Linked DNA regions of Homo sapiens: all the other regions are linked to region 6. Evidence: promoter capture Hi-C in 16 types of primary human blood cells and fetal thymus (Javierre and others, 2016). All regions are on one chromosome and are shown on one strand. Each heading gives the region's core, a stretch centred on a gene start or on the middle of the fragment in contact. The rest is flanking DNA. Distances are from core to core; before and after follow the strand shown. Region 1 has its middle 28 kb from the start of MIR1246. Region 2 has its middle 31 kb from the start of LINC01117. Region 3 overlaps LOC124907910 (a long non-coding RNA gene). Region 4 overlaps LINC01116 (long intergenic non-protein coding RNA 1116). Region 5 has its middle 25 kb from the start of NRAL. Region 6 holds the start of HOXD1 (homeobox D1). Region 7 overlaps LINC01117 (long intergenic non-protein coding RNA 1117).

Region 1 (3,435 bases), core at 530-3,029, 380 kb after region 6:
AATAATTTTGTAATTAATCTTTGTATTTTTTTATCAGTTTCATTGTGACCTGACCAACTGAGCTTACAATTGTGTTTCCCTCTTGGCTGCTGAACTTCAACACATTTTGCCATTATGACTTTTATATTAGTTTTCATTTCTTTCTATTCTCAGTTCAGCAATATTGCTGGAGTAATTATTGTTCTTTATACCTTCCAAACATGAGTATATTTTTAAAAACATAAATTAGATGAAACTGTATTAAATTCTCTGGGATCTAGAACATATTCTCAAGGGGGATGAAATCCACTAAAATTATATGTACCTAAGATACGCTGGTAATATTTTGCTAGAAAAATTCTTTGTTAGCATAAAATGGTAAAATATATTACATACAGTATATACATATATAGATAGATGTTTGAACATATAAACAATTTATTTAATAATATTTATTATCTATGTTTCAAACTTACTAATTAATGTGTTGGCTTTCTAAGCTTTTCTCCTTTCTTCCCCAATAATTCTGAATCTACCTTTGTCACTATGATTAGGTAGTCCTTTATAAAAACATTTCACCATTCTGCCCCCATGTCTTCACTTTACATTTTCTTCTATGAACCTTTTGCCCTTGTTTTCTGTCAACTCTTTTGAAAGACATATTTTCTCAACTTACAGTTTTAAAGACATTCATAAGATGAATTCAGTTACCTTTTATCCCATTCTCCTTTTGTCCAAGGAGAATGTTGAAGAAATAACATTTTTTCAGTTGCTTAGCATTTTTTATTTCTGGAGAGAACTTTCACTGTTGTTATCATTTGACTTGAAAATGACATGTATATTATCCATGTGTCTGTAGGCATTTTTTAATTTTAATAATTTTGTAGATATATTTATATGTATTTTAAGCAATAGCTGCGTTAGACTGTATAAATCCCTCCCGCCCCCCCTTGTTTTTTTTTTTTTGAGACAGAGTCTTGCTCTGTTGCCCAAGCTGGAGTGCATTGGTGCGATCTTGGCTCACTGCAACCTCCACCTCCTGAGTTCAAGCAATTCTCCTGCCTCAGCCTCCTGAGTAGCTGGGACTACAGGCACATGCCGCCACACCCGACTAATTTTTTGTATTTTAGTATAGACAGTGTTTCACCATGTTGCCCAGGCTGGTCTCGATCTCCTGGCCTCAGGCTATACGCCTGCCTTGGCTTCCCAAAGTGCTGGGATTACAGGCATCAGCCACCATGCCCCACCCTAAATTTCCCATTTTTCAATAGTTATTTAGTTTCACAGTCTTTTCTAGTTTTTAAATTTTGAAACTGCTCATATGGACATTCTCTGTCATGTTTTTCTTGCCAAGGACAGCACAAGAGAATCCAATGCTCTTTTTAGCTATGATACCTTGGAACTAAACTTACTCTGACAAATGCAAACATTTTCCTGCACTGACAAAGGCCTTCACTAGTGAGTGGCGTGCTGGCCACATTGTCAGGAAGGCTTACCTTAGAAGCTATAAATTTATAAGAGGTCTGACAAAGCTGGGATGTTTTCAGGTGGTCTTCCTTAAGATCATTTAGATTTAAATATTTGAAAAGAACCCTCTAGAGACCACCTTTTTAAGAAAAAGCTCATCTAACGATGAAGATGGGGCCAGAGAACTCTCAAAGCTGCCACCACTGCTGCAACCATTTAACATCCTGTTTTCATCTTTCTCCTCCAGCAGCCACCTCAGTAGTCCCAAGGCGTGTTCCTGCACACTTACCGCAGGATGCCATAGCTATTTCCTTATTTTGTGTAGCTATTTTTATGAGGTTGTAGACAATGTGCACGCTGGTTTGTGAAGGGTTAACACTCAGTTGTGCTGTTGTTGTGCCCTTAGTCACAATATGTTTCCTTTGAAGCAAGGGTGCAGTGTTTCAAATGACAATCGGTATAATTCTGTGCAGATTTTTCCTGATTAATGGACAGGAATTTTCAGTCGAATCTTTAAATGAGTTAGGACAGTGTAAGAGATGGATATAATCCTTACATTTTTTCATTAATAGACATTTCAAATTTGAAAAACTAGGCATTGTATACATATCTGATTTATTGCTGTATGTGTTTCTTGAGTCATAAAGCTGCTGCAAAAGTTATATAATGCTTGCAAAAAAAATAGCGTGGTCTCTTTGTGAAGCTGAATGAAATAAAGTATAAAGTTTGTGATACATTAAATCACAAACATAAATATGTACTTTATGGCCAGCTGTTATTTCTAAATGTGCACATTTTAAAATAGAAACATTTACCCAACATGCTGATTAGCAATTTCCCAGTTCCAAAAGCCCAATTGCATTTAAGATGCAAAAGATTAAAATGCCTAAATAGATAAAGTTAATAGTTCATCTTCCTAAATGCTTTTATATGTTTTAAGTCTTACAGTTCCTTCCAACCCAGTAGTCTCAAGGCTGGAGCTACTTTGATGTGGATTTGTGTTTTATGCACATGTTCTCATTGGAACTGAATCTCACTGCATCTCAGACACCCAGAAAAATATTCTGCACATGAAGGGACGAAGGGACACCATGTGGCTCCATACTACTTCATGCTGTGCATGCGGGTTCTCAGAGAAAGTGAACTGTTTTTCCATTTTAATTTCTCAAATATTCAACCTTCATTTTGGCTAAAAATCATCTCAGTTGCTAATGTTCCATCTCTCAATTTTACTCCTCCCCTGCATAAAAACTGGTCAAGGAGAACATGCAAGATTATGTTGATTCTAAAATACAGTTCCCCCAGGAGACCTTATTGGCTCGTCCATATAGCATTTCTGTCTTTGTAGGTAGAGCAGAATTTGTAAATGCCTCCAGTCCTTTAGGACACATTGGCAATTGGCAGTTCAAAAGTTCATATGATGCCATATGTCTGAATAATTTTTATCTACATCTAAAACAATACAGGACTGTCAAATAAAATCCTGCATGCAAACAAATGATGGAATGCAGGGGAACTCTCTGCTTTAGCCTTTTCTTCTTTGTCCGACAAGCTAATGCAATAAGGCCAATAATAAAAGGTTGTGTATTAGGCCTAAAGCCTGTGACAGATAAAAAGAAATGTTGGAAACCAATGAAGCTTTTGCACAATTAGATTTTTTGAGGCTGTGCTGTAAGGATTGCCCAGAGCCTGTTCAGTCCTGATTGATGGTAAAATCATAACTACATCATATTAGCTGTAGAGTTCACTGACAGGTTACTACAGATTAATATTGCCACTGCTGTTCACTTACCATCAAACCAGGGGAAATATGAATTGAGCTGTTCTTCTAACAAACCCCGCATATTAAAAGGTAAGGTGTTCTACTGAACAATCTCCCCCTGTCACTGAGGAAAGACACAAACAATGTCTATTTGAGAGATATGCAGATACCTTGCAGCATACTAATTAGTTCTCTGCTAAAACAGCCCCATCACATCCGGCTGGCTA
Region 2 (3,469 bases), core at 331-2,830, 480 kb after region 6:
TTTTAAATAAGTGCTTTCCCATTTTCTGCTTTCTTTTTAATTTTTAAAAAATCTTTCCCTTTCAAGCATTAGCAGAGCTGCAAGCACAGGATGGCCCAATTTTGTGAAATTAGGCCTTTGCCCATGTTTCTAATTCAGAATTGGATGTACTTTAAATGTCCCCCTGAGTGTAGCAGCTGAGAGTCCTCTTCTCTCCTGGGTACTGTAATCTTTGGTGGGGTCACTAAAAGGAGGGATATGTCACAGGTAACCTTCTACCACTTGCTATGGGGAAGCTTTCTTTTGTGTTCTTTCAGATTTGAGTAAAGTTGCCAAACATGATAAAACTGCTTGATGATGGCAGAATTGTTAAGTCTACTCTTAACCCTGTCCACCAGTTTACCAATGAAAAGGTCAGTGGCATGCAAAGAGAGGAATTCTTTATAGCTGCCAAACAACTGGTTTAATTCACCTGTGTTCCACCCTAGAAGTACTCGGAGATAGCTACTGGAAGGTCAAGAAATAAATCCTTGTAGTTGGGAAGTCATAATTTTCAACAATCATCTTCAATTTATTTTGAAGCAATTATTTAAACCTGAATTAGTTGTTAAGTCACATATAAGATAGGTAGTTAGCTTGTATGGTATAATTATTCAAAGGTAATTTGTAATTAATTATGAAATACCTTTACTAGAAAAATAAGTCCTATATAAATTGAACTAATTTTTATGGTACTAGTAATATTACTATACCTATTAGAGGTGGAGCCTATATTAACTATTAACATTAATTAATGTTACACTAATAACATTAACATTAATAACAATTAATAACATTAATTGTTGTTACAGGATAATTTTAGATTTGCAAGGATCCTGAGAAGTTATCCAATTTAGCTTTTTACCTTCAGAGAGAATTAAGCTAAAGCTCCACCTGTTCCTTGAAAATGATTCCTTCTGCCCTAAACCTTGGAGAAGCTTTTCTTCCTTTGAATTCTGTGCTGTATCTGTGCTGGACATTTGGAATTTAGCATTGATTACTCTGTATTGCAATTTTATGTATGTGTCCTATCTCCTGAACCAAAGTGTCAGACCCTTTCAAATTAAAGACTGGAATTGAACATTTTGGCCCACTTCCCGCATATGCTAAGGCAGTGGTCTATGATGGAAGATGTTCAGTATGCACTGAGGAGATTGATCTAAATTTATCTTGAAAATCATGTTAGTCCTTAACAATCTTCTCTTGGTATTTGATCAACAACTTGAATTAGAAAGTATCAGAGATGTTTGGGACATTAGATATACTCTAATCTAATCCCTGTTTTACAGATCACAAAACTGAGTAAGGGCCAGAGAGCAAAATCAATTGCCTAAGACACATTGCTGGTTAGTCGACAAGAACCCTCTTTTTAGGATGCCATCTGATATTAATACCAATGTGTATGCCCTACATTAGGGTCTAACTTCACAGGTAGACTCTTCTCTCCTTAGGTTTGTTCATTTGAATGAATGAATGGTTCCTTATAAATGTCTGAGGTGCCAGACCAGTGTTCTTTCTTTGTATATTCATAGATTAGCAGCAGCTTATAATGCTGCAGATATATTCTGCTACTAGCCAGTGGCCCTGGAACCTAATTTACAATATCCGGGTATTCTGTATTCCCTTGAACATGTGATTTTTTTTCCCTTTGAATTCTATGTTTTTTGGATTGCTCATGGTGGAAGGTTTGGGACATAAATCATCATCATTTGCTACTGATCCAATTTGGGAAAACTAGGTCAGTGAATTGTACATCTGTATTAGTTGCTGTGGAAGGACCATTTTAAGCATTCTCAGACATGTAGCTAAGCAAGTCTGGGGCTCTCTGACATTACATAATTTCTCTGCTAAACCAAAGATCTCATTGAGTTTGCTGTTCAGCCATGTCTTATGTTGGATTAGGGGTATATTTGTTCAAAGCTCAGTTTCATCATTTGTCCAGCTTCACAGTATTTCCCCAGATAGGGAGGCTGCCTTCCAGGCTTGGCTGGTTTTTCCTATATTGCTGGGAAAGTTTTCAGTGAATGAATACAATGTAGAGTTTTCATTTGTCACCATGTTATCTCATTTCTAATTTTTGTTCAAGTTATTTTAAGGAAAAGCACCACCCAGTTTCTCTGACCAACTTTTAAAAAAAGATGAAAAGATTTTCTCAGCATGAATAATAGCAACAAGCACATGATGGTCTAAGCTTTTGAACTCTCAGACAGCTGGAGTGCCCAGAATCAGAGTGATTTTCTTCAACCACTTTAGTGCACTGTGAATGTGTGATCGGAGTAGAGTGTGTGATCTTAAACAGTCCTGGTGTCGTGTGGGGAGTTTCCATTCCTTCACTAAATAGACTTCCTGGTTTGAAATTAGCGTCTCATCATGACAAACAGGACCATGTACAGGGAGGTCAGCAGGGGCCTTTCCTGTCATTTGAAACGTGCCCTTGGTTTTGCTTCCCCTAACCCCAGTGCCTTGGAATGCTGTTTGAATCTGGGGATCAAGTGATTCTAAAGTCTCTCCAGGAAAGGAGAATTCAATGAAGCATTCAGCAGCAAAAACTTGGTTAAAAGTGCAGCCTGTGTCAGCATAGGAATGAATTAGAAACAGACTGTGAAAACCTCACCTGTGATCAGTATCACACCCAGAAAGTTGGAGACATCAGGAGGACATGTTCTATGTTTTCACTACCTTGTTGCAGGCAGTCATGAGAGTGATAGGAGGTCACTGTGACTTGTAGTTGTAGGTCCCATTTACTTTCAGGAGAGCAGGCTGAGAGGCTAAGTTCTGTGGTCCGTTGATTATCTTACCTTGGCTTTTCATAACCTGGCAGTTTCCAAAAATAGTTTGAGGACTAACAGAATTGCTAACTACCTCCCACCTCACTCCTGTAAAGACAGTGAACACAACCAGTCTCTTTTTTCCTTTGTTTCATACAAGAAGGGAAATTTTTATACTATAATATGAGAAGACTATAATCTAAAAATAAAATCTTTCTTAAGAAAATTTCCTCATTTTGCTCTGGACCTGTGAAAATGTTTGCACAGACCTGCCTTTGGGAAATCACTTCTCTAGGATGAGCAACATTACGAAATTCCCTCTGTATGGCCATAGCATAGCTTTGTTCCTAGCTCCGGCTAACTTTCTTTGTGGCTGATGCTTTTTAAAGAATTCTGGTTGAATGTCACTTAGTACTGGCTGGAACTTTGTTCAGTAGTTTTGGTAGATGCTGCTGGTATTATCATAATTCATTCATTCACTTGCTTATTTAACAAACTGCCAGACCCAGGCTATGTACTGAAGAGATAAAACAAAATAAACTCACTATTCTCAAGGAGCTTGAAACTCCTTTTCAAGAATCTTATTTAAAAATTTTTAAAAGTCTCTCTTTGTGCCATGAGGGCTTGTGTAGAACACAAGCAGAAGTTGTGAAATGAGTATTTATCTATAGATCCTAAATAAA
Region 3 (3,510 bases), core at 565-3,064, 400 kb after region 6:
AAGAGTTAACCTTAAAACACTTAGCACAGCATCCATATGCTTTGCTGTGTGATCCTGTGAGGTTACTATTACCAGCTCCATTATACAAATGAATAAACTGAGGCAAGGCCTAGAGAAGTTAAATAACTTGTCCAAAGTCATTCGTCTTGTAAGTGGTGGAGTCAGCATCCTAACTCAGGCAGATGAGCTTTCAATGAACACACCATCTTTCTCCCAGGACTAGGAGGAAACTTTATGTTATCTATTACCTGACTGTTTACTAACTGTTTGTTTTCCAGGATGTCCTCCACATTCCACAATTCAGTAGCCAAAGGATTGAACTGATACCTGCAGAAGACTTCCTGGATTCCCTCTCCAAGACCCACAATCCACTATGATTGGATAAGGCCTACCCTCTAATTGATCAGTACTACACACACACACACACACACACACACACACACTCACTCACCAAGGCTTGGTTTCCTTTTCTAAAAAACAAAAGAGGGTAAAGGAATGCCCTCCCAAGTCTCTTTCTAAAATTTTCAAGTTCTACAGGCTCAGTAGGCATCCAGCCTCTCAGCACTACCCTATGTCCCCTATGCCCACGTAGATAAACTTGTTTTAATAAAAGCTAACTTCCGATTTAGCACACAGTATTAAGAATTAAAGTTGGATGAAGCTATTACTGTTACGAATAGCCTTGGGCTATTTTTCAATTCACCTATGTCATACGTCAAGTGATTAAGAAAATCAAATGCTGTATCCAGGAAAATAGAACATGAAAAGGCAGGAATAATGTGTGTCTTTAGGACACCCATTTGAACACAAAAGAATTAGGGCCCAAATTTCACTATATGTCAAATGTGAATTTATTTCTATAAAAGGCTTCAGAACTCTCTAAGCTTTGCATTGTCTGAAGAGTGCTACAGAGCCATCTGTGACTTGTAGTGGTTGCATCCAGATCTTTGAAAATGCTTTTTCTTCTTAATCAAGTTAGGATATTGGATTTCCAGAAGAGTAGGATCTCTATATTTTGATACTCGCCTGATTTCTTAAAGCTCCTAAAGGTGCCTTTTGACTTCCTAACTGATTCTAACAAACACATGGCTTCAGTCTATCTGGCTTCCCCTTTGTCTAAGAACACTGACATTAGGAGTTGCCAATTGGCACCTCTATGTGGACACCTTCCACCCAGAAACCATGTTGAGTTTTCAGGTTTCACAATGATGCTGATTTGAGTCAGCACTGTTGGAAATGAGGGTCTTTTTAAAAATGCTTCAGATTCCCAGTTATTCCTACCTTTGTCTCTTCAGTCCTCAACATCCTCTGGGGCAAAACTAGAGAGCTGCACTGTTTCTGTGTGAGGTGAACCTGCGTCCACAGAGGAGCAGCACTCACGTTCCCCACTCAAGACCTGTGTAATTTATTTGTAGCAAAGCTCCATCCTTAATTCACTATTATCTTGTCTTTCTGGCATCCTCCTTCCCTCTGTGCTATGCATGTTGGGGTCGGTGAGGGGAGCAATGACCCAGAGAGGGGCATCTTTTGCATGGCAAAGTCCTTTGGATGAGCTGAGGATTCCCATCTTGACTGAAGTTTTCCAGTTTTTAAATCTCATCTTTCATTTTGTGATGCTTGATAAAGATAGCAAAGTAATATGAGTTAGTAAATGTTAACACGTGCCGCAAATACAAAAGCAGTTTATTCTGTCATTGATAATGGAGGAAAATATGCAATAATAGTATTGAATTTGCACTCATAGGTAAAAGCCTTCATTGCAAAGCAAAATCTGATTTTTGTTTGTGACCAGCATGAATGCTGACCTCTGCCCTTTGAATGATCTTTCCGTCTCCCGGAAAGTTCATGAAAAGGTCATGGAGCTGCGCTGACTTCCTCTGTGTGTGCATGGACGTGTCTTTGCTATTGATCCAGGAAAAGACCATTCTGTGGTTTTGTTCATTTTATTTTTAATGGAAACCTAATCAGTAATTATAAAATGTTTCTAGAAGAATTCACGCCTGAGTAAGTGAAGAAAGCTAACCTCATTTCATGCTGATTATTTAACCTTGGTCATAACTCCCAATTAAATGCATTTCTTGAACCCGTAACAAAGCAAAATATGGCACTTACTGGTCAGAAATTCAAAGCAGGAGAGAGAAAAAATGGCTTAATAGCTGGAAATAAAAACATCAGTGAATTTTTCTTATGGATTCCTTCATGTCAAATTCATATCATGAGTGACTCGCAGTTTTCCCTTTAGATCATCTTGGCATCATCGAGGAGCAAAAATAAAAATGATTTCTAGTATATTCTTGTGGTGATTCCTTCTTTTGATGCTGCCTGTCACTGTAAAAAGGGTTATGAATCTCTGGAAACCTGCTGTACTGTCGGCAGCATAGGCACCAGTTTTCAAATCAGACGTCAGTAACTGGAACAGTTGGAGGGTTTTAAATCTCTACGAGAAAACTATTGCCATTTACAAACAACAAGGATTGTACTGAAATGGTGAAAAATGCACTTGCGTCATATTTAGAATGATTGTGTGTGGGAGGATATAACAATACTTTTCAGGACTGTAAGCCATACGTATATTCATATCTTGTGCTATTTATCTTGTAGATATACAGCGCTGGGAGTTCTCTACTGCTAGCTGTTAGGCTCGTAGCATTGAGGAGGAAAGATCCCAAGGCTTGTCACTGCCGTATATCACTGCAGCTGTGCCCTTTGATTACACTGGGGCGCCACCAGTCATTAATAACAGGGAAAGCTTTTTGTCTGGCAAATGCATCACTGTACAGTCTTTTCTTAACACCTAGGCATCTTGGTGCGGTAGCAAAGGTAAATTAAAGATGAAGCTTGTTTATTTTACAGCCACACTTGTGAAAATAGAGGTGGCCTTTCCAGAACCATTCAGGAAAATGTATTTTTCCCTTGCCTTGTAAAATTGAAATATTTTCATATTTTGCATTTGCTGAAGGGAATCCTGTCATTAAGTCACTCAAACAAACAATTTGAGCACAATGTAGTTATGATTTTAATTCCATCACTGTCACACTCATTTGGCTACCAGAGGGTTACAAAACAAGCTATCATCCAAGACAACAATTACTGTATAGACTTAAAAACCCAAATGTGTTCCTGGTTGAAGATTCTTGAAGAGCATAATGTGAATGAAACTTGCATAGAATGTTTTCCAAATGCGGAAAAAACAACACAGTCAAACTTGATGCTTACTGAATGTGTGGCTTTGAAAGGCTGATGCCAGAGGCCTGTTTTCTAGGCAGTAGTGCTTTCCTATCAAAAGTAATCCCGAAGCTGACCAATTTCTGAGAAGCCTGATCCACAGTAAACTAACTCACAAGAAATGGGTTTATAAATGCCACCTCCCTATGTCAAATGTTGTACTCTTTTTTTTTTTTTTTTTTTTTTGAGATAGGCTCTCTCACTCTGTCACCTGGTCTGGAGTGCAGTGGTGCAATCACAGCTCACTGCAGCCACAAACCTCCTGGTCTCAAGAGATCCTCCCAC
Region 4 (3,278 bases), core at 207-2,706, 440 kb after region 6:
GCTTTGTGGGGCTGGGCCTAAGTAAATGCTGATACAGGCAGCCCCTTCACTTAGCCCATCCATTTTTGCCCACATTGTCTTTGGCAATTTCTGTAGTCATCTCCAATTCATTTAAAAAGTTTACTACAAGAGTTAATTGATCTTGATTGCTGGTGGGTAGCATTAACTCAAATACAGAAATGCTCTTGCTCTCCAAGATGACTCCTATTTTAGGGCCTGGCCACCGCTAGGCTAAGCTTGGTGGGTTACCCTCAAATGACCACCCACATTCATGTAAGGTGAACTTGTCCTCAAACAGCTGCTGGCTATTAAAGTTAAATTTTGATCAGATCTTCCAACATTTAGTAGTACAATTCCAACTCACTAGGTTTTCCAGGTTTTTCAAAAATCACCTTTCGTTCTCATGGTGAATAATTTTAATTGGAGAAAGAAAAAAAAATCTCAAATGCACAAAATCTTTTACCATGTTTCATCTTTTTAATAATGTATTTATTTTTATTCTAAGTCCAACAGGCAAAGACCAAGTCAATTTCAGTATTTGGCACAAAGCCTGCTGCAATATTGATGATATAATATCAATCATGATTATAAGTTACTCTGTTATTATGTGAATATTATTTTATAAGCTTTAATAAGATGCTTGAGCATTTAAGATGAATGGTTTAAAGTCTAAATTCATATTCATGCCAAATATGTAGGACATATTTTTCATAATTGTTCTTGTCCCTTGGGTCAGTAATATACTTTATAATCATCATAAAATTTCATTCTTAATTCATTTTAATTTATCAGAAGGAAAATATGGATGGTTATTGCCCAATTAAAATACTCCTGATGCTTTTAAGGTAGATATTATTGGGGTTTTGGAGTTTCACTGAAGACAATTTAAAAAAAAAAAAAGAGCAGCTGCATGGCTTCAAAGTGTTTTTAAGTGCTCTGAGTTTCCAGAGATATCCAGCTGTTTAGCAGTTCCCTGTCCCATGTCCTGTTCTCGTATCATCTGTGATGTAATCAAGGAAAGACTGGAACATTTTTCCCACATGAAAGGTGCAGGAGCATGTGACTAGAGATAGAATTTTCACTTGGTACCTAGAGAATCCATTCTAATACTTATGTACACTTGGCTTACAGTTGCCAAGAGCAGGATCTAGGAAGAAGGTCACCAAAAAACCTGAGATAAATGCATGAATCTGAGTCTGCCTCCTTGGCTAGACATAGTACCACTTGCTTTGTGAGAGACACAAGAGGTGTGCCCTTGGAATGGATGCTTTTTGAAGGTGTTTGCTAAAGGCATTTTCTCTAGACAATTCACATGATACTGGCTAGAAAGCAAACCGGTAGGTGCCCATACAGAACCCAATAGAGCAGATTCTGTTACAAAAGCTACAGTTTCTTCCAGAGAAATTAAATGAATCAAAGTGATTAATGTCCATAAAAGAAAACATATAGTCAGAAAAACTGCATTTCAGTTCATTTTGAAAAAATTACAAACAGAATTCAGTCTGACCGTTCTTCCTTTGATGCATTTGATTTCTACTTTCTTCTCAATTTCATCAAGATCTTAAGCCATAACTGTATTGACACCTATTTTTATTTTCTTCCCCTCACTTATCAGGATATTGTAATTTTATATACACGTGTTCAGTTCTCTGAAAAGAAAGTCCCCAAAGTTCATAATCTTCTAAATGTTTACCTAATATTAAGATGAAAGCACTCTTAAGGACGGATACTATGAAGATGCCTTAAGATTGTTTGAAAGTCCAGGCTTTCAAACAATTGGTGTTCCTCTCCAAAAAGAGGAGAGTCTTTGCAGTGGGAGCATAAGGATTAGTTGGTGGATGTGGTAAAGGCAGACAAGTTTATTAAAATATATGCAAATTGCTTTCATTTGGAGGTGTGTTATAGTTTACAAAGAGCTTTGGCATGCACATGTTGTATCATTTGGTAAAAATTAGCATACCCACCATTCTTAGAAGCAATTCAGTTGTCTTCTAATACACTGCTCATTTGTGAATATTTTCTTTTCGAACAGGCAGATTTTCACTTGAAATATTGAACTGTAAGATTCACATCATAAGGGGCGATAAAGTCATATGCATTCTTAAATAAAAATAATAGCACATTCTTAAAAGGACATTTGTTTGTTTATTACTTAAATGGGTTTCAGCCACTAGCGTACATTTGGCACCAGTTGCTGTGTTTTGCTCTAGCCTGAGACTCTAATGCCTGAGCACTAGTTACTCCGGTTCTAAAAAGCTATGAATTTTGATATATAGCCTACGTTATGAAAGCTTACCTCTTTATGGCTTCAACCAGGTGAGTGTATGGCTCCGGGCTTTTCTTTTCTTTTTTTTTTTTTTTTTTTGAGACGGAGTCTCGCTCTGTCGCCCAGGCTGGAGTGCAGTGGCGGGATCTCGGCTCACTGCAAGCTCCGCCTCCCGGGTTCACGCCATTCTCCTGCCTCAGCCTCCCAAGGAGCTGGGACTACAGGCGCCCGCCACTACGCCCGGCTAATTTTTTGTATTTTTAGTAGAGACGGGGTTTCACCGTTTTAGCCGGGATGGTCTCGATCTCCTGACCTCGTGATCCGCCCGCCTCGGCCTCCCAAAGTGCTGGGATTACAGGCGTGAGCCACCGCGCCCGGCCCGGGCTTTTCTTTTAGGCTCTTTGACCTAGAGAAATGAAGCTTGGAACAGGGGATCTGCAGGCACTAACTTGTAGAGGAGAGTCCCAGAGGTGCAGGTATCATGCATTCAGTGAGCTGGGAAACTCTAGCCCGGGAACATGGAGTCACTAAGTCTTTCAATGTAGGAAAGGAGCCCCAACTGTTAAGGCAGCTAGCCAAGCAGGTGACAAACTGTTGCACTTCAAAGACAGGAAATCCCTTCAAACGTTAAATTGTAAGGACACAAAATGACCTACATTCAGGAAAATGGGGAGTCAGTAATTCCACATCAGGCTTGTTCCAGTTTATTGAAGCATGTCTGGTGGATATTAACTGGTCCTAAGGATCCCACTCTAAGTGAATGGCAGCCTTTTCCACCAGAAACCCACATTTTCAACATCTTATTTTTAAAAAGTCATTCGAGTTCACATCAGATTGAAGTTATTATGTAAGGACTCTCTCTGGGACAGTTTTCAACCCTAAAATTAGTCTAGTTTAAAATTACAATTACTCAGAATGTTTAAGAAATCTATGAACATGTTTAAAAAATCTTCTGAACATCAAAACTAAGAGAAGGCATCAGTCTACAGTGCAGTCTTAGAAAACAACTGAT
Region 5 (3,395 bases), core at 571-3,070, 340 kb after region 6:
GTGCAGAGGAATGGTGAAGAAATGAAACTAGAGAACAAGGATGTATTTGCCTAAAAAAACTGGAAGGAAAAAATGAATTCTTTTCATTGAACCACTATCTGTTCCTTTCCATCCTACTTATGAGACAAGTCAGTCAACAGCTATTTACAAGACATGGAAGCTTAGAATTACATTGCTTTAAAGTATGAGGACTTCAATATTATGGCCTAACAACTAGCCAGTATCTTTTTCAACACAAGAGTAAGCAGTCTGGCAGATCTCTGGAGTTCTAAACCAACAGATCAAGTTCCCCCCTTGGTTGTTTAGGCCTCTATAAAGAAAGAAATGCAATCCAATAATGACGATATTGGCAGTGGAGAAACACACCCAAACCCCTATTAAAGCTAATTCAGAGAGACTTCCTGTACCCTGTAATGATATTTCAAGGCATCTTTTTTGACTTGTGGTGGATTCAAATGTATGTAATGGGTCATAGACTAATAAGATTTTATTGTTCTTGGAATTGGGTTGAAATATCTCCTTTACCTCCCACCTCCTTCATTCTATCACATACCCATGCCCTCTCTGCCCTGATCCCAATATGACCTCATAGCACATGTCCCTTAGGACCAATGCACAATGAGGATTTAGCACAGCTCTCACTGCCTTACCTCTTTGGAGTCTTTGGATAACCTTCCAGGTATGGTTCTGAACCTTTTCCATAAAGCAGTAGCAGCCTTGCAGGAATTTTGCTATGAAAAAAGTAAAATGAACTGGACTTCACGATCAACCAGAAACAAGCGTGAACAGACCTGTTCTCAGACCAAATCAACATCTACTCCTGCCCTGACAACTATAAATTCAGAAGTCGTCACCACATAAAGTGCCTCATGCACAAATACTTGAACTCTGACTTCCTTTCAACAGCCTTAATGGTACTGCTTCCCATATCATTTTAACATGTCCTGGTGTTGTAATGCCATAAATGACAAGCTCAACTATGATCATGGCTCTAGTTGCCAGGCCTAACTCCACAACACCTCTGTCATGTAACAGGCGGCCCTGATGTGGCACACACAAGAGAACTCCGCCCCCGCAACTCCCAGAGCCTCAACTCTCTCAAGCCTTTCCTTCTGTATTAGAATGTGGAGGCCTAAAACCCACTACTGCAAAGTACAGACATGAAAATAATTAACCATCTCTTCTATTCAGCTATAACTTATATTCCCTCTGAGGAGGAAAAATGGAGAGAGAGAGAAAAAGAACTCCAGGCCCAGAGACCCACATTTCATTTGGAACACTAGGGGTTCTTGGTAGAGATCATTAAAGTGTAGTTTGAGATATTTTCCTTTTCTCATCAAATCACTAGCCCTGTAATTGATGTCATAAAAAATATCTGTGTTCAGTTGCAGTGGGTTTCTCAGGTCCCTTCAAGTTATCAATTATTTATATCCCAATGAAATGAAAGGAAGCTGCATTGTAAGGTCCTGAAATGCCACTGAGGAGTCTGAGGGTGGCATCGTTAATCTTGTGCATTGCACCCATGAAGAGCACATTATACTCTACTTGGGAAAGTTCATTTCCCCTTCTCTGTCATACATTATCTGGTGGATTTTATTGCTTCTCCTCATAAATAGTCTCATTGGGCTTTTTGTTTGTTCATATCCTCCACAATTTAGACTCATAAGGATGACAGGAAAAACACCAGTGCCTTCAGATTCCACAGACCCTTTTCTTTGGGTCTTGTGGGCTTTAGCCATTTCCTCCTCATTCCATGGCATCCAGGGAGTTTTGTTCACCTACCAACATTACATAGTCTGGATTTTAGGAAGAATTACATTTTCTAATGGCATAATTTAATTAGTATTAGGGTTCATAGCCTTCCATTATTTTTCCTGCTTTAATTTCCCCCTTCCCAAACTTTCTTCCCCTATTCACACAACAGAGTAATTCTAGCAAGATGAGATAATCACACTGTTACTTTTCCTTGGGGGAAGCAACAGAAAACATTTGATGATAAGTCTTAACATCCTAACTTGGCCATTATTCTTTTAGTGAAATGAAAAGGAGTCTTGGCTAGCACACTACCTTTATATATTCTGGTAAAGAACTTTATAGGTATCGCTGGTAAAATCTGATACTGCACCTTGTGCCAAGACATTATTTTCAGGCTTATTTAGGATTGCCCTTTTATAGGCCTCATTGTAACAACTAGAGACAGTTCATGGAATCAGAGTTATATCTAAACAGAGTGCTGCAATAGGCTTTAGCTTTTCCATCATGCAAAGTGCAGATCGAAATCCAAATGAATCTGTTCCTAATCAGCCTGTGTCTCTGATCTACAGACTATAAATTTGGTTGTTATCAATGATATGGCATGCAAGTGTAAGTAAGGATTGCTTATGTGGAGAAACCACTAAGAATGTTCTAAAAATGTTGGAAGAAAGGAGCATGAATTTATAAGAAAAAAATGGGTACAAGCAAACCCAAATAACCTTGTGTAGTCTTACCTCTACATGACCTATATTTTCTGTTATAGGTCATGATCTCCTTTTGGAAAACAGCAAGGTGGCTCTTTCCAGGACTGAGGAGGGCATATATATTTATTGTTCCCCATCTAGTCAAAGGGAAGTTTTGAGAATAGGGAGCACGCTGGTTAGACAGGACTGCAGCCACAATTCTTTCTTAACGCTGCAGTTTCATGTTTTATATTTACTGTTCCCTAGACATGTAGACATCTAAATTGGCATTAGGAGTGTGGGGAAATTCTGCCAATAATTGGATCCTGAAAACCTCAACAACTTGATTAACTTCAGAGACTTGCAGTCCTGTTTGCCAAGTATTATGCCATCCAGAGTTTCACAATACACCTAGCAATACAGATAACTAATATTCCTCTCCCCTTCATTTCCTGCAAAGAAAGGACTCTTTAAAACATAAGGGGATATGTTCATTCAATGCAGCTACAAAGAAGGAGAGAGGGATATTTTTGCAAAGTGATCAAAAGCTACTTAAACAATTAGGTGCCTGCGATGAAGGCCCCAGCACTTGTGATCTCAGCTTGGTGCTCCAGCTTCCTGTAGGATGGAGAGGCATCATATGGCTGAGGCTATGTGTTTCCTGTCCAGAGGAAGCAGAAGGGATCAGGAAAAAAAGAGAGTAGGGGAAGGAGCAGATGGGTAGAGCTAGAGAGGACTTCTAGCTCTCTCTGACCCTAGCCATGGTCCGTGCTTGATGGTTCTTTTAACAGAATGTGGTTTTGTAGAGGACAAAGCAAGTGCAGCTTAAAGAAGCCCCTGCAGACAATTTCAAAGCTGAAAAAAAAATCAGGGTTGCTTATGTGGAGAAATTACTAAGAATGTTCTAAAAATGCGGGAAGAGAAGGGCATGAATTTATAAGAAAGAAAATGGGTACA
Region 6 (3,787 bases), core at 1,188-3,687:
GCCGGCTGGATGTCTTCCCCAAAGAGGTTTACAAAGTCATCCTTCCTTCTTGACCCATGGGGCCTCTAGGCTTTGGAGTTGTGATAGGATAAGTATCATTTGAGGGAACACTGTGAGAGCTGGGACATCTTGCAGATAAAAACTGGCTATTAAAATCTAGCCAGAGGTGGAGGAGGGGGCATTGTGAACTCAGCAGCATCTTATTTGCTGTTACTTTTGCATAAATGGCACAGGAGAGCAGTGAAGAAACGTGTCTACATTTTAAGGCTGAGCTAGCTCTGAAGAGCTCTAACATTTCCTAACTGGGGTGTTAGGGAAGAACTTTTATTTTTCTCTTCTTAAAAATTATTTAGGGCCGGGCGCGGTGGCTCACGCCTGTAATCCCAGCACTTTGGGAGGCCGAGGCGGGCGGATCACGAGGTCAGGAGATCGAAACCATCCTGGCTAACACGGTGAAACCCCGTCTCTACTAAAAATACAAAAAATTAGCCGGGCATAGTGGTGGGCGCCTGTAGTACCAGCTACTCGGGAGGCCGAGGCAGAAGAATGGCGTGAATCGGGGAGGCTGAGCTTGCAGTGAGCCGAGATCGCGCCACTGCACTTAAAAAAAAAAATTAAATAAATAAATAAATAAAAATTATTTAGGACCTTATCTGACTGGCTATAGCACAACTGAAATAGCAAAATCAAGATTGAAGGGCTATTTTCAGCACAGGTATTCCATTTCCAATCAAACTCAAGAACTCCAGCAGTGCAGGAACCACAGACCTCTTTAACTTTGTGCTGATTCCTAGGCATCCACCCTCTACTGGCTCCCCTCAACCTGGGGACATCCCTCCCCCATCCTGCAGCAACTTCGGGTCCATCAGTAGTCCACATTTTGGTAGGGCTTTGTTTATTCACAAGTCCACAACCCTGGAAGGAACTGGCTCCCTGGGCTGTGATGGCGCCTATTCTAAAGACTTCCTCAGAGTGGAAATTTAGGCAACAACAGCTCAATCGCTCTTTTATGACAAGTCAATCAGTAAAACAATGATAAAACCTCGGTTACCATAACTTAGAGGCTGTAATAGATTAACTTTTCAAGGGCACTTGATATAAGCTCTGAGTAGACTCTTTAGAGTCTTTATTCACACAGGGTTTTAGGAAACCACCCTCTTTCATAACTACTGTGTGTAAATAACCTCTATTTATCTAATTTGTAATTTTCCTACAGTCCCCTCAAAAGGGAACATTAAAAGAAATACTAAAGGAAGTTGGAAAGTTTGTCAATGTAAAGCTGGTCTTTGTAACCTTTCTACTCTTCATTTCCTGTGGCAATTGCACTTTTATTTCCCGTCTCTCTACACTCAGTAAACAAAACCATATTATCAAGGGAAAGACGTGAGCCCATTAACATTGTGAGCCCTCAGATTTCACTCACAAGAGACGATGCAGCACTTATCTGATGGAGCAGAAGCTCTAATTGCTTCGAGGTACAAGTCCATCTAAACCTCTGAGATCTCACCCGTCCCCGGTAAGCCCTTGCGCCCTCCAGACAAGCTCCTCAGTGAAAGCAAGCGCCGCACCGGTGCCTGTGCCAGTCTCCCAGAAAGGAGCATAAGGAGTGTTCCACCACCACTCTGGATTCTTTATTCCAACAACCCAGCCGGAGGGGAAAATCTGCTAAACCACCCCACAAGGCAGAAACTTTATCAAAATCTGGCACTACAACACTGGCCCTCATCACGCCGCCACAAATTGCGAGGGATAGAAGAAAGCTGCAAAGTCACGTTAAAAGGAAGCCTAGTCAAAAAGTGAAAATTTTGTCCCGCCCTAGGCACACAGCACTCACAGCATAAGATGTAGTTCCATGAGTCCTAGGAAAGGGGGAAGAAAGGAAAAAACCAAACATCTGCTCTAGGTTTAGAAGAGGGATAACATCAGCGCCAAGCAAACCGAAAGCGCAGAGGACTCAGAAGAGGGGAAGAGGAATAACTTTATCTGTCCTGGAGGTGGGCGAAGAGCAGTCTCCACCGGCCGCGCGTCACGCTCCCATTTAACCTTTTCCATGCCGCGACGCCCACACTCCGCCCTCGAGGGACTAGCCCCCCCCACGATCCAGAGCAGAAGCGGCTCGCCCCGCTGCATCCACGGGCCCTCACCCAAGCGTCCAGTCCTGCCTTTCTCCCCCCACCTCGCCCAATACCTGTCCGAGAGCAGGCGTTCTGCCCTCTCGCCCCGCCCTTGCCCAGGCAGCCCCCGGTCGCGACGGCTCTCCTCGGGGCTCGGGGGCGCTGGGCGGCGGCCCTGGGCTGCTTTGGCTAACTTGGCTGCGGGGCAGGCGCGAGGAGCGGCGCGCCGACCGGGCCGAGCGGAGAGGCCGCCCATTGGCCGGCCAGCGCCACGTGGCCGCCCCCGCCGGTATATTAGGCCACTATTTACCTCCGGCTCACTCGCCATGGGTTGGAGAGGGCAGCTCGGGTAGAGAGGGCTGGCGGAGCGGCGCAGACGGCGGCAGTCCTGCTCAGCCTCTGCCCGGCTCCGTACTCCGGCCCCGGCCTGCGCCCTCAGAAAGGTGGGGCCCGAACCATGAGCTCCTACCTGGAGTACGTGTCATGCAGCAGCAGCGGCGGGGTCGGCGGCGACGTGCTCAGCTTGGCACCCAAGTTCTGCCGCTCCGACGCCCGGCCCGTGGCTCTGCAGCCCGCCTTCCCTCTGGGCAACGGCGACGGCGCCTTCGTCAGCTGTCTGCCCCTGGCCGCCGCCCGACCCTCGCCTTCGCCCCCGGCCGCCCCCGCGCGGCCGTCCGTACCGCCTCCGGCCGCGCCCCAGTACGCGCAGTGCACCCTGGAGGGGGCCTACGAACCTGGTGCCGCACCTGCCGCGGCAGCTGGGGGCGCGGACTACGGCTTCCTGGGGTCCGGGCCGGCGTACGACTTCCCGGGCGTGCTGGGGCGGGCGGCCGACGACGGCGGGTCTCACGTCCACTACGCCACCTCGGCCGTCTTCTCGGGCGGCGGCTCTTTCCTCCTCAGCGGCCAGGTGGATTACGCGGCCTTCGGCGAACCCGGCCCTTTTCCGGCTTGTCTCAAAGCGTCAGCCGACGGCCACCCTGGTGCTTTCCAGACCGCATCCCCGGCCCCAGGCACCTACCCCAAGTCCGTCTCTCCCGCCTCCGGCCTCCCTGCCGCCTTCAGCACGTTCGAGTGGATGAAAGTGAAGAGGAATGCCTCTAAGAAAGGTAAGTCCGCGGGCCTTGGATGGGGCCACCTGGGGTTGGGGACGGAGCCTCCCCCGCGGAAATGCGCTGGGAGCGTGGTGTCGCTGCCTTTCCAGACAGCGGTTTGGGTTTTGTGGAGGAGACGCGTTCCCGGGCGAATTCCATGGAGTCTGCCTCGAGTACAGATTCGGAAAATGTGCCAGGCATTGAGAAAATTTCAGGAAGGAGCTCTCCGTGGAACTTCTCCTGGTACAAATTCTGTTCCTAGGGACCCAGGAGGGCTGCGCTGGGACTTTGATTCTAACTAGCTCCACTGCTCACCCACATTCTGTCCCCGGCCTCAGGCCTGGCTGACGCCCTGTCTTTACGTTGCAGGCAAACTCGCCGAGTATGGGGCCGCTAGCCCCTCCAGCGCGATCCGCACGAATTTCAGCACCAAGCAACTGACAGAACTGGAAAAAGAGTTTCATTTCAATAAGTACTTAACTCGAGCCCGGCGCATCGAGATAGCCAACTGCTTGCACCTGAATGACACGCAAGTCAAAATCTGGTTCCAGAACCGCAGGATGAAACAGAAGAAAAGGG
Region 7 (3,649 bases), core at 701-3,200, 460 kb after region 6:
TAGAGTCAGACATACATACACCCTTCAATCTTTTAGTAATACTTTGGGTTAAAAAATGTTTAAATATTAGGCCTATATTTTCCTTTATTACCAGAGCCTCTTCTTCCAGATTCTATCAGAAAGCTAATACTAACAATAATGTCGTATAGGTTCTAAGATTGTGGGAAACCTCACTTCAAAGCCCCTTCATTAGAAGCTCAGACTTCCATACTAGCACCTAGTTTCAGGCCCATGTTGGGACTAATTACTGCCACTGGGTTTGTCGTGAGCCATCGCACCTGGCGAACCTACCTATATCTTTCTTTGAATGTGCTCAGACCAAGGGTCTTATCTTAAAGGAATATCAGACCAGAGCACCAGACCTATGGCTGAGAAACACCTTTTTTACCCCAGCACACATTTTCCCATCCATCCATTCATCCATCTCCAACAAATAACCTTACACAGCTTCCCCACTCTGAAAGGTAGATACCATATCTGTCTACTTTATCTCCAAATCATAGTCCATAGCCAGCAGAGCGTAACCACCAAAGGAATATTTGTTCAATAAATAAGTGAACAGTTATAAAATGCCCACTATATTGGCATAGTCATACATATATGATGAAGCACAGTCCCTGCCTTCTTGATACTCACAGTTGTTTTTCAGGATAGCTTTGTACCCCATCAGAAAAAAATAGATTTCAAGGCCGCTAATGTTCCTTTTATATTCCATTGGCTGGCCGTGTCAATATTGACTGTGTAATGCACTGACAGATGCGCAGTTCCCTTCAGAGAGAAATGAGAAAAAAAAAAAAAACAGCTTCACATCAGGCAAATTTTGATTATTTCTTTCTAAAGTGCACAGCACCTCCAGTCACTAATGGTTGTAAGAGACTTCGGGGACACTAATCTTAATGCGCCATTTCCTATAGGTCTTGTTAGTTCCTAAAACCATCTGTAAGAAGTTATTGTATTTGGCTTTCTTCAGCCATATTTTTTAAGCACGACATTTAATTAGTGCTTGTTAAGATGTTTCAAGTGCTTTGGCCACTTCTCTCACCCCTGCTGTTTCTTCATGGTCAGCATATTTTCTGGAAATGTTGTTTTCGGGAAAGGGCATCAGATGCGTCTGTGTCTGGAGAATTGCTCTGTGTATCCATGTGAAGCAAGTCTCTGAGAGCAACTGGAGGGACTGTCAGGCTGGCTGTGGGGCCTCCGTGTTCACAGCAGCTACTTTGAAAGGCCTCCAGTTTTGACGTTCTCATGGAAAAAGCAGAGACCTCAAAATGGGTTTGGAACCGACAACAATAGGAGGGTACACTGGAGCCCTGGAGAAGAATGTCACATAAGTGAAATGTATTTGAAATATTTAATCTAGGAACCTTTGGATTAACTTCATTAAAAAGAGTTTGCTTGAAAGGGCATAATTTTTGCTCGAAGAGACCTTATGAAAACTGCAAAATGGTTGATGGTACTGAAATATCCACCCATGCTCACTAAAGGAATAAATAGGTTGAATATAATTCCATTATTTTTGCAACTGTTTAATACCATAAAATTCATTAAAATTTCAAACTGCTTTACAAAATAAGACATTTTTTTCTAAGTTTTTCCCCAAAATTCTTTATCCACATTTGGATTAGAATGGCTTGATATTTGTAGTAGTTTATGAAGCGCAAATTCATGTCAAATCTGATATACAAAAGAAAAGTATTTCAAGATAATACGGAATCTGTGAAAATGAAGAAATATGTGTATTTAGCTAGGTTAAGAAACGCTATCTAATCTACTAGCATAACCTCAAATTTTTTTTGAGACATATTCGAGGAACAAAAAGCTTTATGCCGATCATTGCTTTAATGGTAATTAAGTTTTCTTTCTCTTTGAATTTTACTGTACTCTTCTAAGGTAAAGAGGAAGCACAATACATGTAATATAGAGTTAGTCAAATTATTAATATTCCACATGTAAAGTAATTTCTACTGGAGCCTTTTTTTTGCCTCTGTAATCTAAACATTAAAGTATATTGAAGTCTTTAGTCAAAGACTGGCATTTGGCACTGGGTGTCCAAACATTTCCCGCTGGGCCCTCAACCACTAACAAGCTTTTTGTTTGGATAGAAGAGAAAGGGGAGAGTAAGGAGTTGAGCTGGCTAACTCTTGACATCTGAAATCTTTATCAGTCACAACGACTTTTTTGGTTTGTGTTGATGATTTGTGGTATTGTTGTTTATCTGTATATCATTCACTTGGACTCGCTGTTTAGATGCAAAGATCTCAAGACCATCTGCAGTCTTGATGGGTAGTTGTAGCAGCCCGACCAGACATCTGGCTGTCAGTTATAATTGCATTCCTGCTCCTAAAGTTGTTGTTAGATACTCCTGATTCCCTTTGAATGTATTACCGTGATGCACCACCGTTTCAGGCCATTGATGTGAGAGACCGAGTTAATTCCTGGCTTTCGTCTGGCTAGAACCAAGATTTATAAAATGAACAGAACTATCCATTTTGCTGGAAGTGTGGCTGTTTTTGTCTGCATTAGGTTTAATGATGCATCAGTTTCTTCTGCAGCCTATACAACTGATTCTTTGAACATGGAGAGAAATAGTGCATCCGAAAACTATTTTCATGGTGTTGCCATGTTTACTATTTCCTGTTGTCTTTGCCTGAAAGTGTTTTAACAAAAATTAGGGTAGAGCATACAAACATTTGAGGCAGGGGATGAAAGGAGTTGTTATTATGTTTCCTTTCCAGGTTAATGTGGTTGCCTTTGATTTAAGCACTACATACTTAGGACAGGATATGACACCAATTAAAGACATGAAACTTAATTTTTGGACTAAACAATCACATAATCCTTCTTCTGGTATCTGGTTGAGGTTTACTGACATGGCATTTATTTCTCAGTCACAATCCTAAATTTATTGGGTTGGCTTTACTTAAGGTACATGGGGCAACTAATATTAGTGCATGTAAAAACCTAGCAATGTCCTAAATTGTAAAGGAGCTATTATAAAGAGAACATATTTTTTCCCGATGACTGTCAACATGAGATCAAGAATGCATGCAAACTCACTCCATGAGCCCTGGGCTCACTCATCTTGGTTGGAGGCAGATTTTGATTTAAGATCTAAATTTCAAAAAATGAAAATCAATTTTATCTCATAAAGTACAACAGGGAAAATTTTTACTAATAACCTCTCCTTAGCCTTAAATTTAAATTACATTTTTGTCAAGAGAATTTTAGTATTTATTGAAAATCAAGTTTAGATAATAATCACAAAATAATGCATTAATCGTTTAAAAAGATAAAAAGTAATGTACTGTTTGTGGGTAACACATTTAAATAATAAAATTGAATATTAGTGTTTAATTTTAGTACAAAAAATAATTAAAATGAAGGCATGCAAATATAATGAGCCAGGTTAACCTCCCCATCTTTCCACTTTGACACCTTGTTTAACTCTAGCTAATGATGCTATGAAAAAAAGTATTAGTGGTTTCAGTTCAGCCCCTGGTGGTCTATATCACATATTGCATAACCTGCTGGTGGGTCTTACGGGCTATTTCTCATTTACAGACAGTAGCCTTTTATAATTCTGTCTGGAAGTGGGGGATTGCAGAGGGAGGGTGCCCTGTTTTAACCTATTTATTATGCACTTGAAAAT

The links. The method cuts DNA at HindIII sites, captures the fragments that hold promoters and counts their contacts. A CHiCAGO score of 5 or more calls a contact.
Region 1: a fragment that was not itself captured here is called in contact with the fragment with the promoter of HOXD1 in region 6 in 3 of 17 cell types (fetal thymus, endothelial precursors and naive B cells); the score reaches 7.2 in fetal thymus.
Region 2: a contact is called between a fragment that was not itself captured here and the fragment with the promoter of HOXD1 in region 6, in 1 of 17 cell types (fetal thymus). The highest score is 5.7, in fetal thymus.
Region 3: a contact is called between a fragment that was not itself captured here and the fragment with the promoter of HOXD1 in region 6, in 1 of 17 cell types (fetal thymus). The highest score is 5.9, in fetal thymus.
Region 4: a contact is called between a fragment that was not itself captured here and the fragment with the promoter of HOXD1 in region 6, in 5 of 17 cell types (fetal thymus, megakaryocytes, naive B cells and 2 more). The highest score is 9.3, in fetal thymus.
Region 5: a fragment that was not itself captured here is called in contact with the fragment with the promoter of HOXD1 in region 6 in 1 of 17 cell types (endothelial precursors); the score reaches 5.2 in endothelial precursors.
Region 7: a fragment that was not itself captured here is called in contact with the fragment with the promoter of HOXD1 in region 6 in 4 of 17 cell types (fetal thymus, total B cells, endothelial precursors and 1 more); the score reaches 7.8 in fetal thymus.

What each region holds. Positions count from the first base shown.
Region 1 is chr2:176,571,600-176,575,034 of GRCh38, forward strand. No RefSeq gene overlaps it. Among named protein-coding and RNA genes, the nearest start is that of MIR1246, 28 kb to the right of the region's middle. The HindIII fragment of the contact is 2,605 bases long and covers 478-3,082 here.
Region 2 is chr2:176,667,244-176,670,712 of GRCh38, forward strand. No RefSeq gene overlaps it. Among named protein-coding and RNA genes, the nearest start is that of LINC01117, 31 kb to the left of the region's middle. The HindIII fragment of the contact is 1,253 bases long and covers 955-2,207 here.
Region 3 is chr2:176,587,641-176,591,150 of GRCh38, forward strand. LOC124907910 (a long non-coding RNA gene) reads left to right here. Exons shown (of 2, transcript XR_007087314.1): 2 at 279-2,291. Among named protein-coding and RNA genes, the nearest start is that of MIR1246, 12 kb to the right of the region's middle. RefSeq lists an enhancer at 1,121-2,320. The HindIII fragment of the contact is 1,865 bases long and covers 883-2,747 here.
Region 4 is chr2:176,631,069-176,634,346 of GRCh38, forward strand. It overlaps LINC01116 (long intergenic non-protein coding RNA 1116), which reads right to left. Exons shown (of 5, transcript NR_188023.1): 2 at 1,965-2,057. Among named protein-coding and RNA genes, the nearest start is that of LINC01116, 4.9 kb to the right of the region's middle. The HindIII fragment of the contact is 1,665 bases long and covers 625-2,289 here.
Region 5 is chr2:176,530,940-176,534,334 of GRCh38, forward strand. No RefSeq gene overlaps it. Among named protein-coding and RNA genes, the nearest start is that of NRAL, 25 kb to the left of the region's middle. The HindIII fragment of the contact is 3,325 bases long and covers 159-3,395 here.
Region 6 is chr2:176,186,231-176,190,017 of GRCh38, forward strand. It overlaps HOXD1 (homeobox D1), which reads left to right and starts at 2,438. Exons shown (of 2, transcript NM_024501.3): 1 at 2,438-3,223; 2 at 3,578-3,787. The coding sequence starts at 2,572. HAGLR (HOXD antisense growth-associated long non-coding RNA) reads right to left here and starts at 2,728. Exons shown (of 3, transcript NR_033979.2): 1 at 2,584-2,728. MIR7704 (microRNA 7704) reads left to right here and starts at 2,613; the gene lies at 2,613-2,671. The HindIII fragment of the contact is 11,390 bases long and covers 1-3,787 here.
Region 7 is chr2:176,646,805-176,650,453 of GRCh38, forward strand. The region is part of intron 2 of LINC01117 (long intergenic non-protein coding RNA 1117); the gene reads left to right. Among named protein-coding and RNA genes, the nearest start is that of LINC01117, 11 kb to the left of the region's middle. The HindIII fragment of the contact is 267 bases long and covers 1,818-2,084 here.